5 separate regions of the Homo sapiens genome follow, and all the other regions are linked to region 2. Evidence: promoter capture Hi-C in 16 types of primary human blood cells and fetal thymus (Javierre and others, 2016). All regions are on one chromosome and are shown on one strand. The core of a region is centred on a gene start or on the middle of the fragment in contact, and the rest is flanking DNA. Distances in the headings are between cores, read along the strand shown. Region 1 overlaps PTGS2 (prostaglandin-endoperoxide synthase 2). Region 2 holds the start of PLA2G4A (phospholipase A2 group IVA). Region 3 has its middle 19 kb from the start of PACERR. Region 4 overlaps PLA2G4A (phospholipase A2 group IVA). Region 5 has its middle 82 kb from the start of PTGS2.

Evidence for each region. Contacts are between HindIII fragments. The CHiCAGO score rates a contact against its expected background, and 5 or more counts as called.
Region 1: a fragment that was not itself captured here is called in contact with the fragment with the promoter of PLA2G4A in region 2 in 3 of 17 cell types (neutrophils, megakaryocytes and monocytes); the score reaches 7.5 in neutrophils.
Region 3: a contact is called between a fragment that was not itself captured here and the fragment with the promoter of PLA2G4A in region 2, in 2 of 17 cell types (neutrophils and monocytes). The highest score is 6.6, in neutrophils.
Region 4: a contact is called between a fragment that was not itself captured here and the fragment with the promoter of PLA2G4A in region 2, in 1 of 17 cell types (M2 macrophages). The highest score is 5.2, in M2 macrophages.
Region 5: a contact is called between a fragment that was not itself captured here and the fragment with the promoter of PLA2G4A in region 2, in 3 of 17 cell types (monocytes, neutrophils and megakaryocytes). The highest score is 11.7, in monocytes.

Annotation. Positions count from the first base shown.
Region 1 is chr1:186,676,348-186,679,048 of GRCh38, reverse strand. It overlaps PTGS2 (prostaglandin-endoperoxide synthase 2), which reads left to right. Exons shown (of 10, transcript NM_000963.4): 4 at 645-788; 5 at 1,219-1,400; 6 at 2,133-2,216; 7 at 2,336-2,582. Among named protein-coding and RNA genes, the nearest start is that of PTGS2, 2.7 kb to the left of the region's middle. RefSeq lists an enhancer at 276-1,475. The HindIII fragment of the contact is 2,730 bases long and covers 87-2,701 here.
Region 2 is chr1:186,827,565-186,830,264 of GRCh38, reverse strand. PLA2G4A (phospholipase A2 group IVA) reads right to left here and starts at 1,316. Exons shown (of 18, transcript NM_024420.3): 1 at 1,230-1,316. The HindIII fragment of the contact is 13,801 bases long and covers 1-2,700 here.
Region 3 is chr1:186,698,321-186,701,020 of GRCh38, reverse strand. No RefSeq gene overlaps it. Among named protein-coding and RNA genes, the nearest start is that of PACERR, 19 kb to the right of the region's middle. The HindIII fragment of the contact is 2,394 bases long and covers 203-2,596 here.
Region 4 is chr1:186,988,970-186,991,669 of GRCh38, reverse strand. It overlaps PLA2G4A (phospholipase A2 group IVA), which reads right to left. Exons shown (of 18, transcript NM_024420.3): 18 at 2,689-2,700. Among named protein-coding and RNA genes, the nearest start is that of LINC01036, 100 kb to the left of the region's middle. The HindIII fragment of the contact is 1,386 bases long and covers 649-2,034 here.
Region 5 is chr1:186,596,981-186,599,680 of GRCh38, reverse strand. No RefSeq gene overlaps it. Among named protein-coding and RNA genes, the nearest start is that of PTGS2, 82 kb to the left of the region's middle. The HindIII fragment of the contact is 944 bases long and covers 917-1,860 here.

The DNA.
Region 1 (2,701 bases), core at 202-2,701, 150 kb after region 2:
AGTGTCTTTCTAAGGTTTTTAGCCTTCTCAAAGAAAAATATGCTTTATAATACTGTAAGCCTAATCTAAAAACATATTTCCAAGCTTATCAAAAAGACTTTAAGATAGCTTTTAAGTTTGCCTTCCATCTTAATCGCCAAAAATATTGACATTTAGTCCCATCCAGTTTATACAGTCTGCTCACAACTCTGTATACCTCTTCTAACCTTTACTGTTTGGTCAGTTTGTGGAGGTAGCATGGTCCAGCTGTTTATTGAATGCCCATGGGCCACAGAATTGTTCTGAACATGTAGCACCCATTAAAATAAATTTGGATTTGGATCAGCAAGAAAATAACTTTCCATGATTCTAAAGTGGGTGCCATACTCAGCCATTCCTTTCATAGGCCTCTTGGATAGTGAGCAGATGGCTACCTGAAAAATCAATATTGCCAGATTATAATGTGCAGAGTATATGTATTTTATTAAAGATGTATTTCAAGTGGCCATTAGACTATAAAGTGTAGTTGTTTAAAAATAGATTTTTTTTATTTTGGAGTTACATTCAACCTCAGGTGCCACTTTCCACATTTTACAATAAAAATAATGGTTGATTTACTTAACAAATGAGAATAAATAAAACATTTTTTTCTTTGAAAATTTCAGCCAGATCACATTTGATTGACAGTCCACCAACTTACAATGCTGACTATGGCTACAAAAGCTGGGAAGCCTTCTCTAACCTCTCCTATTATACTAGAGCCCTTCCTCCTGTGCCTGATGATTGCCCGACTCCCTTGGGTGTCAAAGGTGAGTAAGAAGAATCCATTAGAGATGTATTAACTATAAGACGGGCTGCATTGCTGCCAAAAAAAAAAATTGACCTTAGACTACCATTTATTTATTAACAAAAGCAGTTTTTACTTTTAGCATGGTTATCTATGGGTATTTTTTAAAGTATGAGTCTATATAAACTATTATGTAAAAGCAAATGAGCGTCTTGGTATAATGTCTTAATATTTTCAAATTATTTCTTTAGAAATGAAATAATTCTAATTAAAATAGATAAAATCATTCAGTAAGAAGTTGTTCCACCATATCTTAGAACTGTTGTTTATATTATGATCCTATTCACAATTGTAATTCTCATATAAATGAAGAATTCTTGGTAGATTGACAGTCACCATCTCCTTTCTTGAATACATAGATGGATTCTTACCTTAGCTTTCTCATTTTTCAGGTAAAAAGCAGCTTCCTGATTCAAATGAGATTGTGGAAAAATTGCTTCTAAGAAGAAAGTTCATCCCTGATCCCCAGGGCTCAAACATGATGTTTGCATTCTTTGCCCAGCACTTCACGCATCAGTTTTTCAAGACAGATCATAAGCGAGGGCCAGCTTTCACCAACGGGCTGGGCCATGGGGTAAGATAGAGTTAATATCTTAGAGTTAGTAAAATTATACCAAATCATAGTCAAGGGCTAACATTAAAGGAGATATACAGATAGATAGATCCAAATAACTTATCCACTTTTTTTAAAAAGAAGTCTTATCTATAAAAACCTTAAAGGAATTTTCCATTTACTTCACTGGTCTAGTAAAATTATACACACACACAGACATGCACACACATATATAAACATTCACACACATACATATGTACAGGTATTGTTATTTGTAATTTGACCCTTGTATTTTTTAGTTTAAAATGTTAGTACTGCAAAATGTTATGTCCTCAAAAACACATTGTACCATGATTATGCCGCTTTCAATATTGTAAAGTGAGGTTTTTGCCGCATTATTATTTTTTGGATTTCAATAGCATAGCTTCAAGTTATTCGTAAGAATTTTTTATAAATAATACATTTTTATACTTTTTTATAATTACCATATCATCATAGTGAAGTATATAATATATATGATATAAGCTCAATATAGTATATTAATTCCGTTAAACACAAAGACATATCAGTTTGTAGCTTTGGTGGATAAACAAATTAATTTAGCAATTCATGGCTATGAAAAATGTATATTTTATTTAAAAATTTTAAAGAAAGCTAAATGATCAAATTATTTAATGATGAATTATATGATAGACACTTTATATAAGAAAAACTTCAACAGCAACAAATTAAAATTTTTTCATCATTTTCTAGGTGGACTTAAATCATATTTACGGTGAAACTCTGGCTAGACAGCGTAAACTGCGCCTTTTCAAGGATGGAAAAATGAAATATCAGGTATGCTTCCTTTGACTATTAAGACTTAGTTATTACCGCTTATACCCATATTTTAAAATCCCTAAAAATGTGTTCCTTAACTTTTTAACTGATGTTTATTTATTTATTTATTTTTTTAGATAATTGATGGAGAGATGTATCCTCCCACAGTCAAAGATACTCAGGCAGAGATGATCTACCCTCCTCAAGTCCCTGAGCATCTACGGTTTGCTGTGGGGCAGGAGGTCTTTGGTCTGGTGCCTGGTCTGATGATGTATGCCACAATCTGGCTGCGGGAACACAACAGAGTATGCGATGTGCTTAAACAGGAGCATCCTGAATGGGGTGATGAGCAGTTGTTCCAGACAAGCAGGCTAATACTGATAGGTAAACAAGAAAATGATTTATATAAAACCCTCTTCCCCAGGGAAAATTAGTGTGCTATCTTTGTTATGTTTTGAGTAAATGACAAGATGTGGTAAATGAAAACTCACACATTCTATATA
Region 2 (2,700 bases), core at 67-2,566:
CTTCCCCTAAGGGAAGTTTGTAAAACTCCTTTGAGCAAATGCACATTAAACACTTCTCTATGCATTTCACAATTATTGCTTAATTTAAAATTTAACTCTTCCGGAGCTAATGAAAGAAGTAAATACCTGTTTCTTATCCCAACCTCTAACTTGATTGGCAAGGTGTAGGAACCTGTAGAATGTAACTTTAAAATTCTTAACAGAGCTTGTTTCACTACAGTCCTCTACAAATATCCCTTGAGCCACAATTCTAAATTTAAACAACAAAGAGAAACAAAAATACAAATCTTCTTTGAACTCAAATTATATTGGCAAATATAACTTTAGAATTGACACCCATTCAGACAGTACGCCTCTAATACTCTCCATCTGCCTTAGCTGAATAAATGCTGACATCATCAACCCATATGAGGAGTATTTCTTGTTCTGGTTTTGGAGGTGAATTTATTTTTAAGACTAAAATGATTATAAATTGTAGGAGACAGATACATTCATCCACTGATACTTTAAAATCAAATACCTTTTTTTTCTGTTTTTTTTGGAAACAAAATTACTGAAATATCCACACTCAAAATTTAACTATGTAATTTGATCAAATCTTTTCTAGTATCTAGTTTTGAGATTTTTTTTTTCTCTTGGCAAGCCAAGTAACTTAGGGGAAGGGTGGATCATCAGAACACCAGTCCGTTTACAGTTAATTTTTCAATAATCCTCTTTCTTTCGCATAATTCTGCAAAATATTGACTAGCCAGGAAAGCGTCCCATAAGTAACAAAAATGACCAATTTTTAGAAATTAAAAGTTAAGTGAGTCAACAAAGTCTCTCGCTAAAGATCGCTAGGGCTGTCAAACAGCACAGCATGCTGCTGCTCAAGTTTGGGGATCAGTAACCATTGGGTGTCATCACGTGGAACGCTAATAAGCGCCACCTCACCGCCGTTTTGAATGCTAACTTTCTGGGATTCCAACCCAAAGAAACACCTTAATCTTTGACTCCACAGTGCATTTAGATCCAGGAAGGCAAATCTGCGTGGGTTTGAAGAAAATTGAGGTCCCTAATCTGTGTTTCACTTCAAAAGGCAGAGGACATGCTGACTTTTTAAAGCAGCGAGGTTTCCCCTCCGTCCTTTCTTCCTTCCAAGTAAACTACCAAGTAAAAGCTAAGGAGGGTGGGAGAGAGAAGTGGAGCAGAGGAAGAATAAATATATTGCTTACAGTTCCCAGAGTTACCTGAGAATCTTCAGGCTCCTCAATGCCTCTAGCTTTCAGTCAGGATCCTTTTTCAGCTCCGGACTTAGAGAAAGTCTTATCCTGAGTAGGAGGGGCTAAAATGTGGGCTGGTCTCCTTGCGCTTTTGCAGATGTTTTAAGGTGGAATTAAAGGGGAAGAGGGAGAACGCTCTCTTCTCATAGAAGCTAATATTGTAAATGTAAATGCTTAGTTATTAGAACCAGGAGTTTGAAGTCAGAAAATATGCTTAAATAATATGTAAATTAATCAGTCCTAAATTCCATGAGTGCTGTTGTGGATTTCTGTGTGTGTGATGTGTGTGTGTGTGTGTGTGTGTGTGCGTGCGCGCGTCTGAAATTGCTACTTGTCCTTAAGTAGTAACTACTTCCTCCTTTTTTCCAAAGGAGAACAAAATTGAAAAGACAGTGAATAACCTAGAGCATTTTTGCATTATTTAAAAAGGCAAAGTTTATAACAAACCCCAAATATAAAAATGTACATTTTTAAAAAATGAGTATCAGACCACTTTAAAAATCAAATCTGTTTAAATATTTCCACTCCAGACTCAGAACACCTGTGTTGATAATAATTTCTTTGTAAATTTAAGATTAAAGGCATACCAAATAATGTAATATATATGTTGAGATTTAGGGAAGAAAATGAAATCAGGTTGAATTCCAAATTTGCAGTGTAAATCCAAATACCTTATAGCACTGTAATGAAGAAGGTGCATTGTTTAAATGTACCCAAATTCCATGAGAATCAATTCATGTCTTTAAAGATTGACATGTTCATTTAGTATATCTTGTTTTTCAAACACAGGATCTTGTTTTTGCCTTTAATTAAATACTGAACTCACTCTCCTAACTCTCTTACAATATTTTCAAAGAATATAATTTCACTAAATCTTCTGGAATATCTGCTTTCTGTAGCCCAACATTCAACTCTTATTTGTTTTTATTTTTTTCCCCTAAATTCAACCTGGCATATTATAAATCTCTCTTTGAAAAAAAAAAAAGCCAGTAATGTCTTTTTTAGGAAGGATAGATTTATAATAAACATTTTTCGGGCTGGGCACGGTGGCTCACGCCTGTAATCCCAGCACTTTGGGAGGCCAAGGCGGGCGGATCACGAGGTCAGGAGATCGAGACTATCCTGGCTAACACGGTGAAACCCCCGTCTCTACTAAAAATACAAAAAATTAGCCGGGTGTGGTGGCGGGCGCCTGTAGTCCCAGCTACTTGGGAGGCTGAGGCAGGAGAATGGCGTGAACCCGGGAGGCAGAGCTTGCAGTGAGCCAAGATTGCGCCATTGCACTCCCGCCTGGGCCACAGAGCGAGACTCCGTCTCAAAAAAAAAAAAAAAAAAAAAAAAAAAAAAAAAAAAAAAAAAAAAAAAAAATTTCTCTTTCCAAAGAAATCCCTGAATTTCTAGAAAGGAGGTGTATGTTAATTAGAGGAGCAGAGAGCAC
Region 3 (2,700 bases), core at 150-2,649, 130 kb after region 2:
CTAAGTGAAGGTAGTTCCAAGAATACAGAAGAATAAAAACCAAACATAATCGGTCATTTCTTGAACATCTATTGAGTAATAACTAGAAGCCATGGATTTACAGCTACCCCAGTGGCAGGTTGACTTATAAAATCAGGTCTTCATTGCTTGATTGATGTTCTGCTTCAAAGCCACACTTTGTATTTTGACTCAGACATAAGCTTCTATCCATAGAATATGCTTAGTAAATACGTTGAGAAAATAGAGAATGAAAATATAAACAAGAATCACAAAGAATGATGATTGCATACAATGAAAAAATATAGATTAGATATAAGATTTAGCTTAATATATAAGGATTACTTAAGGTTAAATTTTGAAAGTGAGCAATAGTCTAGTAAATTTTAAATGTACCCATTACATCATTTTTACCATTTTTGTTTTGTTTTTCCAAGATTTTTTTTTACATGAAAAAAATTGACAAGAAACTTAAAAGAGGGAGCGTGCATCTTTAAATAAAATTTTCGCCATTTGCTTCTAAAATAAATCACATGCAGCACTTATAAGTGAAAACAGCTGATTTACAGAGTAAGGTTTTACTTAAATGTCAAATGAAAAACCTAAATTTAAAAGCAGTATTTGCAGCTCTTCAAACAGTACCAGAATGGAATCAAGTAGAACCACAAAAAGAAGACATGTTCTGGACACTGAATGTTCTATAGGCCCTGTGTTCATCTCTGTAGAAGAGAAAATTTTGTGTGATAGCCAACAGCCCAAGGGTTGATTTGAAAACAGCTCAAAGTATAAAATTTGAAATATAAAATTTAAAATTTAAAATGGAAAAGTGGAAATGAAAAGACATTTTAAATCTCAAGAGCAGAGCACAATAATGACCACATTGCATTTGAAGTAATGGGTTTCAGGAAGCCTGAATGTATTAGGTTTAGATCTCTTCTGATAACTCAAAGGAGTCCATATATTTTATTTATCTTCATGACAAACATGAGTAGATGAAGAAACTGAGGGATAATAAATGTATGTATTTGCCCAAGGTCATGTGGTCAGTGCTTCAAATTACGTGTTTCTTTCATTGAACTATGTTGGAAATAATGATAGGGTCTTTGATATAAAGAGATTTACATTCTTTTTATATCAAAAAGATATTTAAAAATCTTTGATAAAAAGAGAGTTACTCTTTGATTAAATCTTTGCTATAAAGAGAACTCAAATCTCTTTATATCAAATTACATAAAATCAAGTTAGGCAATGTAAGTAGGAAGTACCTGATAACAAGATGAAAGGAAGAAAAGAATTTCATTTTATCTATGGAGAAAATGACTCATTTTTAGTATCTAACAGAACACAATCTATTATCTCTTTTTGTTTGTTTTTTGTAGAGACAGGGTCTCACTCTATCACTTAGGCTGATCATAGCTCATTGGAACTCTTGGGCTCAGATGATCTTCTGTTTTATTTTATTTTTTTCTTTTTTTTTGAGACGGAGTCCTGCTCTGTCGCCCAGGCTGGCATGCAGTAGCACCATCTTGGCTCACCACAACCTTCACCTCCCGGGTTCAAGCAATTCTCCTGCCTCGGCCTCCCAAGTAGCTGGGATTACAGGCATGTGCCACCACGCCTGGCTAATTTTGTATTTTTAGTAGAGATAGGGTTTCTCCATGTTGGTCAGGCTGGTCTCGAACTCCTGACCTCAGGTGATCTGCCCGCCTCGGCCTCCCAAAGTGCTGGGATTACAAGCGTAAGCCACCGCGCCCGGCCGGGCCCAGGTGATTTTCTTACCTCAGCCTCCTGAGTATCTGGGACTATAGGTGCATGCCACCATCATATTTTTTATGGTATTTCATTTGTAAATAAATTTTTATTAAAATATTTATTTTATATTATAAAAATAACAAGCATTTATTTGGAAAATATAGAAATACAAATAAGCAAAAGATGAAAATAAAATTGGCCTTTAGCCCCACCAATTACAGATAGCTGGTCCTAAAAAACATATTAAGAACCTGCTAACTGCCAAATACCACTGTGTCAGACTTCATCTCCCAGCATCCCCTTGATTCCCTTTCCACCAGGCATACTGGCCTTCTTGCTGTTTCTTGAACATTTCTAACAGCGACCATTTTCCCTCCATTACATTTATGTACTTAAAGTTGTAAAAAGATGAACAGTTCCTGGCATACAGTTATAATGCAATACATGCACACTATATATAGCATTTATTTTACTATTACATTACTAATTTGTAAGACTTAATGTTCACTTGATTTTATTTGTATTTCCTTGCTTCTTAGTGCAATCTATTTTTTCATAAGAGTACTAAGCAAGTTTTTATTGAATTAGTTGATCATGGCTTTTTCCTGTTTATTTATGTGCTTGTCATTTTCATGTGTGTGTTTTTTTCAACTTTTGTTTTAGGTTTGGGGGTATATGTGAAGGTTTCTTACATATGTAACGTGTGTCATAGGGGTTTGTTGTACATATTATTTCATCATGCAGGTATTAAGCCCAGTACCCATTCGTGATCTTTTCTGCTTCTCTCCCTCTTCCCACCTCAAGCAGGCCCCAGTGTCTGTTGTTTCCTTCTTTGTGTTCATAAGCTTTTATCATTTAGCTCACACTTTTAAGTGAGTACATGTGGTATTTGGTTTTATGTTCCTGCATTAGTTTGCCAAGGATAAAAGCCTCTGGTGCTATCCATGTCCC
Region 4 (2,700 bases), core at 92-2,591, 160 kb before region 2:
TCTGTCCGACCTAGAATCAGCCACTTCCTTGAGGATCCTAGGTTTCTGTTGTTATATGATGGGATTTGAAAGCCAACTGCTGTGTCCAGCTGTGCTCATTGCTATTGGGAGTATCACCGCTCCCAGATCCTCTCAGTGACAGACGTACAGAATCTCTACACACACCCACTTTCATGTCTGTTTATTCTATATATCTCTACTTATACTAAAACCCGTGAATTCATACTAATACCTCCTACTTCAACTTAACACCACACAACCTTCTGTTTTTCTTCATTTTCATATTTGTAACTCCATTCCAGTGAGAAAACTGGCACTCATTATATTTATTATATTTCATATATTTAATTACTTCATTGGTTCCCCCATGTGTAAGCAAGCTGCACTGTCTGTGCCACACCTTCCTCTGCATGGATGCCCTCCCATCTCAGGTTTTGGTGTCTGACTTTGATTCCCCATTGATTCCCATGGCTTTGGGATTAAATTGTTTAAGGAGGTAAAGAGAAGGGGAAAGGAAAAAGAAAGAGGAACTACTGTTGAAACTTTTATAAAGTGTTTTCCATGTTAGAACAAAGGTATTCATGAAAAGTTTAAAATTGTATACTTCAGAAGAAATGAAATTAGATATATACATACACACACCAAGCTTTTATTTTGTTGCTTTCATTGCTTATCAAAAAACAAAAAAAACCCTGAAATTGCACAGCTTGTTCATGGATGAGGTAAAGTAGCAGCCCTGTCATGGCGTGAACAATGAACAAACTAGAACACTTGTGCTTGCGTGAAAAAGGCAAAGAGCCAAGCCGAAATTACTAGGGCACGTTGATCATTTTGGGGAAGACTAAGGGGACATCTCACTTGTCAGTCATTCTTTGGAACAAAGAAATAATAAAAAAAAAATGTACAGATTTAACTGGCCACCCAATGTGTGTTTTTATAAAATCAGAATTCTAGTAAATTCATAAATGAAAAAATGGCAAAGCTGAATTAGATGAAAAGCCTCTGTTATTGTAGTTAAGAAACTAAAAGCATGTGAACAAAGGGAAAGCAAGTGTCCTAGTTGGTCCCAGCTTTATAATGACTGTCACTGAAGTGTTCATCTAATTTGTTTCTAGAGGGCACCATAGATGGTGATATACAGGCCATAGGGTCAACAGCATAGGGACCTGGTTCAGAATTTAGTCATCTTGGACATATTTCTTAACCTCTCTGGTCTTGTTTCTTTACAGAGGTATTTGGAAGGATAAATCAAATGCAAACAATATTGCCAAAGTTTGAACAAATAAGAGAAAATTAATTGTACACCTCCCACTCTGCCTTAGGCACGTTGGTCCCTTCTCTGTTTCCGGAATATGCTTGGTGCTCTACCTCAGGGAACTTTGATTTGTTATTTCCTCTGCCCGCAGTGCTTCTCCGTTGGATAGCCTCAGGTCTTGCTCCCTCAGCTCTTCACCTCTTTGCTGCGATGTCACCTTCATATTATGGCCTTCTCTAGGACCCCCTGTAAAATTACACACCTCTAACACATCCCATCTCCTCTTTTTCCTGCTTTTTCTTCTTAGCACTTATCACTCTCTAACATTCAACATATGTCTGTGTCATGTTTATCATCTTTGGTCATCTCCACCAGAATGCAAGGTCCTTAGGCAGGCACTTCGGTCCGTTTTTTCTACTTTTGTGCCCCTAGATCCTGGGATCCTGCAACATGCTTGACAGCATGCAGTAGGCACTCATTTGCCATAGGCATAAATCAATGAACAATAGAATGAACGTTCAAGGCTTCCTTTTATTGTTTTTTGTCTTTCCTCATAGGCAGAAAAGTGAAAGGTGAGAGGATAAAAAGAAAAATGAATAAAGAGCTTAAAGAAAGATAATTCAAGGAAAGAAGAATGGCAGACAGTTAAGAAGAGGAAGACCTGAGCTTTGGAACATTCTGAACCATAACAGTTCAGCTGCAACTGCAGCCACAGTTGTGTCATACAGTGTTCCCAAGACAAATCTTGCAGATGCAAGAGGTAGGCCACTTATTAAGCTTGATTCAGCCCTTACCACTTTTTTGGATTATTCTCTGAGGTCAACTACACTGGTTGTTGGATAAGCAGTCCAGGATAATATTAGCCAAGGGAAATGTTACATTAGAAGTGGTTACACATATATTTTCTACTTAATGAATAAACATATACCATTTTCTGAAAAAATTATATATTCATCTTTCAGAAAAAAAACCTATGATTTAAAATTAAAAGTTTCAGCCAGGCGCGGTGGCTCACACCTGTAATCCCAGCGCTTTGGGAGGCTGGGGCGGGCAGATCAAGAGGTCAGGAGTTTGAGACCAGCCTGGCCAACATAGTGAAACCCCGTCTGTACTAAAAATCTAAAAATTGGCTGGGTGTGGTGGCGGGCACCTGTAGTCCCAGCTACTCGGGAGGCTGAGGCAGGGGAATCGCTTGAACCTGGGAGGCGGAGCTTGTGGTGAGCCAAGATCACACCACTGCACTCCAGCCTAGGTGACAGAGTGAGACTCTGTCTCACAAAAAAATTAATTAATTAATTAAATTAAATTAAAAGTTTCACACTTGAGTTTAGGATGAACAACTTTTGCGTTTGAAAGCAGTGAATATGAGAATCTTTCATAGCAATAGTCCAATATCTCATTAAAAATTAACAAAAAACTCAGTTATCTCATGCTTATTTTTATAT
Region 5 (2,700 bases), core at 139-2,638, 230 kb after region 2:
CTAAAGACTTCACCAAAAAAAAAAAAAAGTATTAGAACTCATAAACTCAGTAAAGTTACAGGATACAAAATAAACATTCAAAAATGACAACAGAGGTAAACAATCTGAAAAAGAAATCAAGAAGTAATCCCATTTACAATAGCTATAAAAAATTTCTAGGAATCAGTCTAACCAAAGAAGTGAAAGATCTCTACAAAGAAAACCATAAAACATGGATGAAAGAAATTGAAAAGGACACTAAAAAATGTAAAGATTTTCATGCTGATGGTTTAGAACACTTAATATTGTTAATATATCCATACTTTCCAAAGTGATCTACAGATTTAATGCAAGCCCCATCAAAATGCCAATGACATTCTTCACAGAAATAGAGGAAAAAAAATCCTAAAATTTGTATGGAACCATAAAAGCTCCCAAATAGCCAAAGCAATCCTGAGTAAAAAGAACAAAGCTGTAGGCATCACACTATCCAATTTCAAACTATACTACAAAGCTATTATAACCGAATCAGCATGGTAGTGGCATAAAAGCAGACACATAGACCAATGGAACAGAATAGAGAACCCCAAAATAAACCCATGCATTTACAGACAACTCATTTTCAACAAAGGTACCAAGAACATACACCGGGGAAAGAACAGTCTCTTCAGTAAATGATGTTGGGAAAATTGGATAACCATATGCAGAAGAATGAAACTAGATCCCTACCTCTCACCTTATGTAAAAATCAAATAAAGATGTATTAAAGACTTAAATGCAAGATCTGAAACACTATGAAATTACTAGAAGAAAACATGAGAGAACTACACCTTAGGACATTGGTCTGGGCAATTTTTTTTTTTTTTGGTAAGTCATTAAAAAGCACAGACAACAAAAGCAAAATTACACAAATGGGATTATATCAAGCTGAAAAGCTTCTGCACACCAAAAGAAACAATCAGCAAAGTGAAAAAAACAACCTATAGAATGGAAGAAAATATTGGCAAACTATCTAAGATGAGATTAATAATTAGAATATATATGGAACTCAAACAACTCAATAGCAAAAAATCAAATAATTCAAATAAAAAATGTGCAAGAGATCTGAATAGACATCCCTCAAAAGAAGACATACAGATGGCCAATAGGTATACGAAAAAATTTTCAACATCACTAATCATCAGAAAGATGCAAATCAAAACTACGAGGAGGTATCATCTTACCCAGGTTAAAATGGCTTTTATCTAAAAGAAAATAGAAGATGCTGAGGAGGGTGCATAAAAGAATAGCTAAGACTCTTGCTCTGTTGCTGAGAATTATAAATTAGTACAGCCACTACGGAAAACATTATCAAGGTTCCTCACAAAAACTAAAAATAGAACTACCACGTGATCCAGTAATCCCACTGCTAGATACATACCCAAAAGAAGAAAATCAGTATATTGAAGAGATGTCTGCATTCCCAAGTTTATTGTGGCACTATTCACAATTGCCAAGATATGGCATCAACCCAAGTATCTATCGAAGAATAAATGAATAAAGAAAATGTGATATATATATGTATATGGATATTATTCAGCCGTAAAAAAGAATCCTGTTATTTGCAGCAGCATGAAAGGAACCGAAGGGCATTTTGTTAAGTGAAATAAACCAGGCATAGAAAGACAAATATTGCATATTCTCATTAATATGTAAGCTAAAAAAGTTAATCTCATGGAGGTAGAGAATAGAATGGTAGTTATCAGAGACTGTAAAGGTGAGTGGAGAGGTTTTAAAGAGAGTTTGGTTAGTGGGTGTAAAAACAGAAAGAATAATTTCTAGTGTTCAATAGCACAATAGAACTATGGTTAACAATAATTTGTTGTAGCTTGAATAAAAGCTTTGGAATATTTCTAACACAAAGAAATGACAATCTTTTGAGGCCAGGCACAGTGGCTCATGCCTGTAATCCCAGCACTTTCAGAGGCTGAGGCAGGCGGATCGCTTGAGGTTAGGAGTTCAAGACCAGCCTGGCCAACATGGCGAAACCCCATCTTTACTGAAAAAAAAAAAAAACAAAAATTAGCAGGGCCTGGTGGCCTGCACCTGTAGTCCCAACTACTTGGGAGGCTGAGGCACAAGAATCACTTGAAGCCAGAAAGTGGAGGTTGCAGTGAGTCGAGATTGTGCCAGCCTGGGCGATAAAACAAGAGAAAGAAGGAAGGAAGGAAGGAAGGAAGGAAGGAAGGAAGGAAGGAAGGAAGGAAGGAGAGGTAGGGAGAGAGAGAAAGAGAAAGAGAAAGAAAGAAAGAAAGAAAGAAAGAAAGAAAGAAAGAAAGAAAGAAAGAAAGAAAGAAAGAGAGAGAGAGAGAAAGAAAGAAAGAAAGGAAGGAAGAAAGGAAGAAAGAAAGAGAGAGAAAGAGAACGAAAAGAAAGAAAGAGAAAGAAAGAAAAGAAAGGGAAAGAAGGAAGGAGAGAGAAAGAAAGAGAAAGAAAGAAAGAAAAGAGAAAGAGAGGGACAATTGTTTGAAATAACAGATATTCCAATTATCCTGATTTGCTTTTATGCATTGTATGCATATATCAAAATATCAGATATACCCAATAAACATGTAGAACTATTATGTATCAATTAAAAAGATAGTTGGATTCTTAAATCTGCTTCTTTAATCTGTTTTAACATATTGCTTTAGTTTTAGTCCATGAAAAAAATCCAGTGTCACATAAATATGTCGTTGGAAA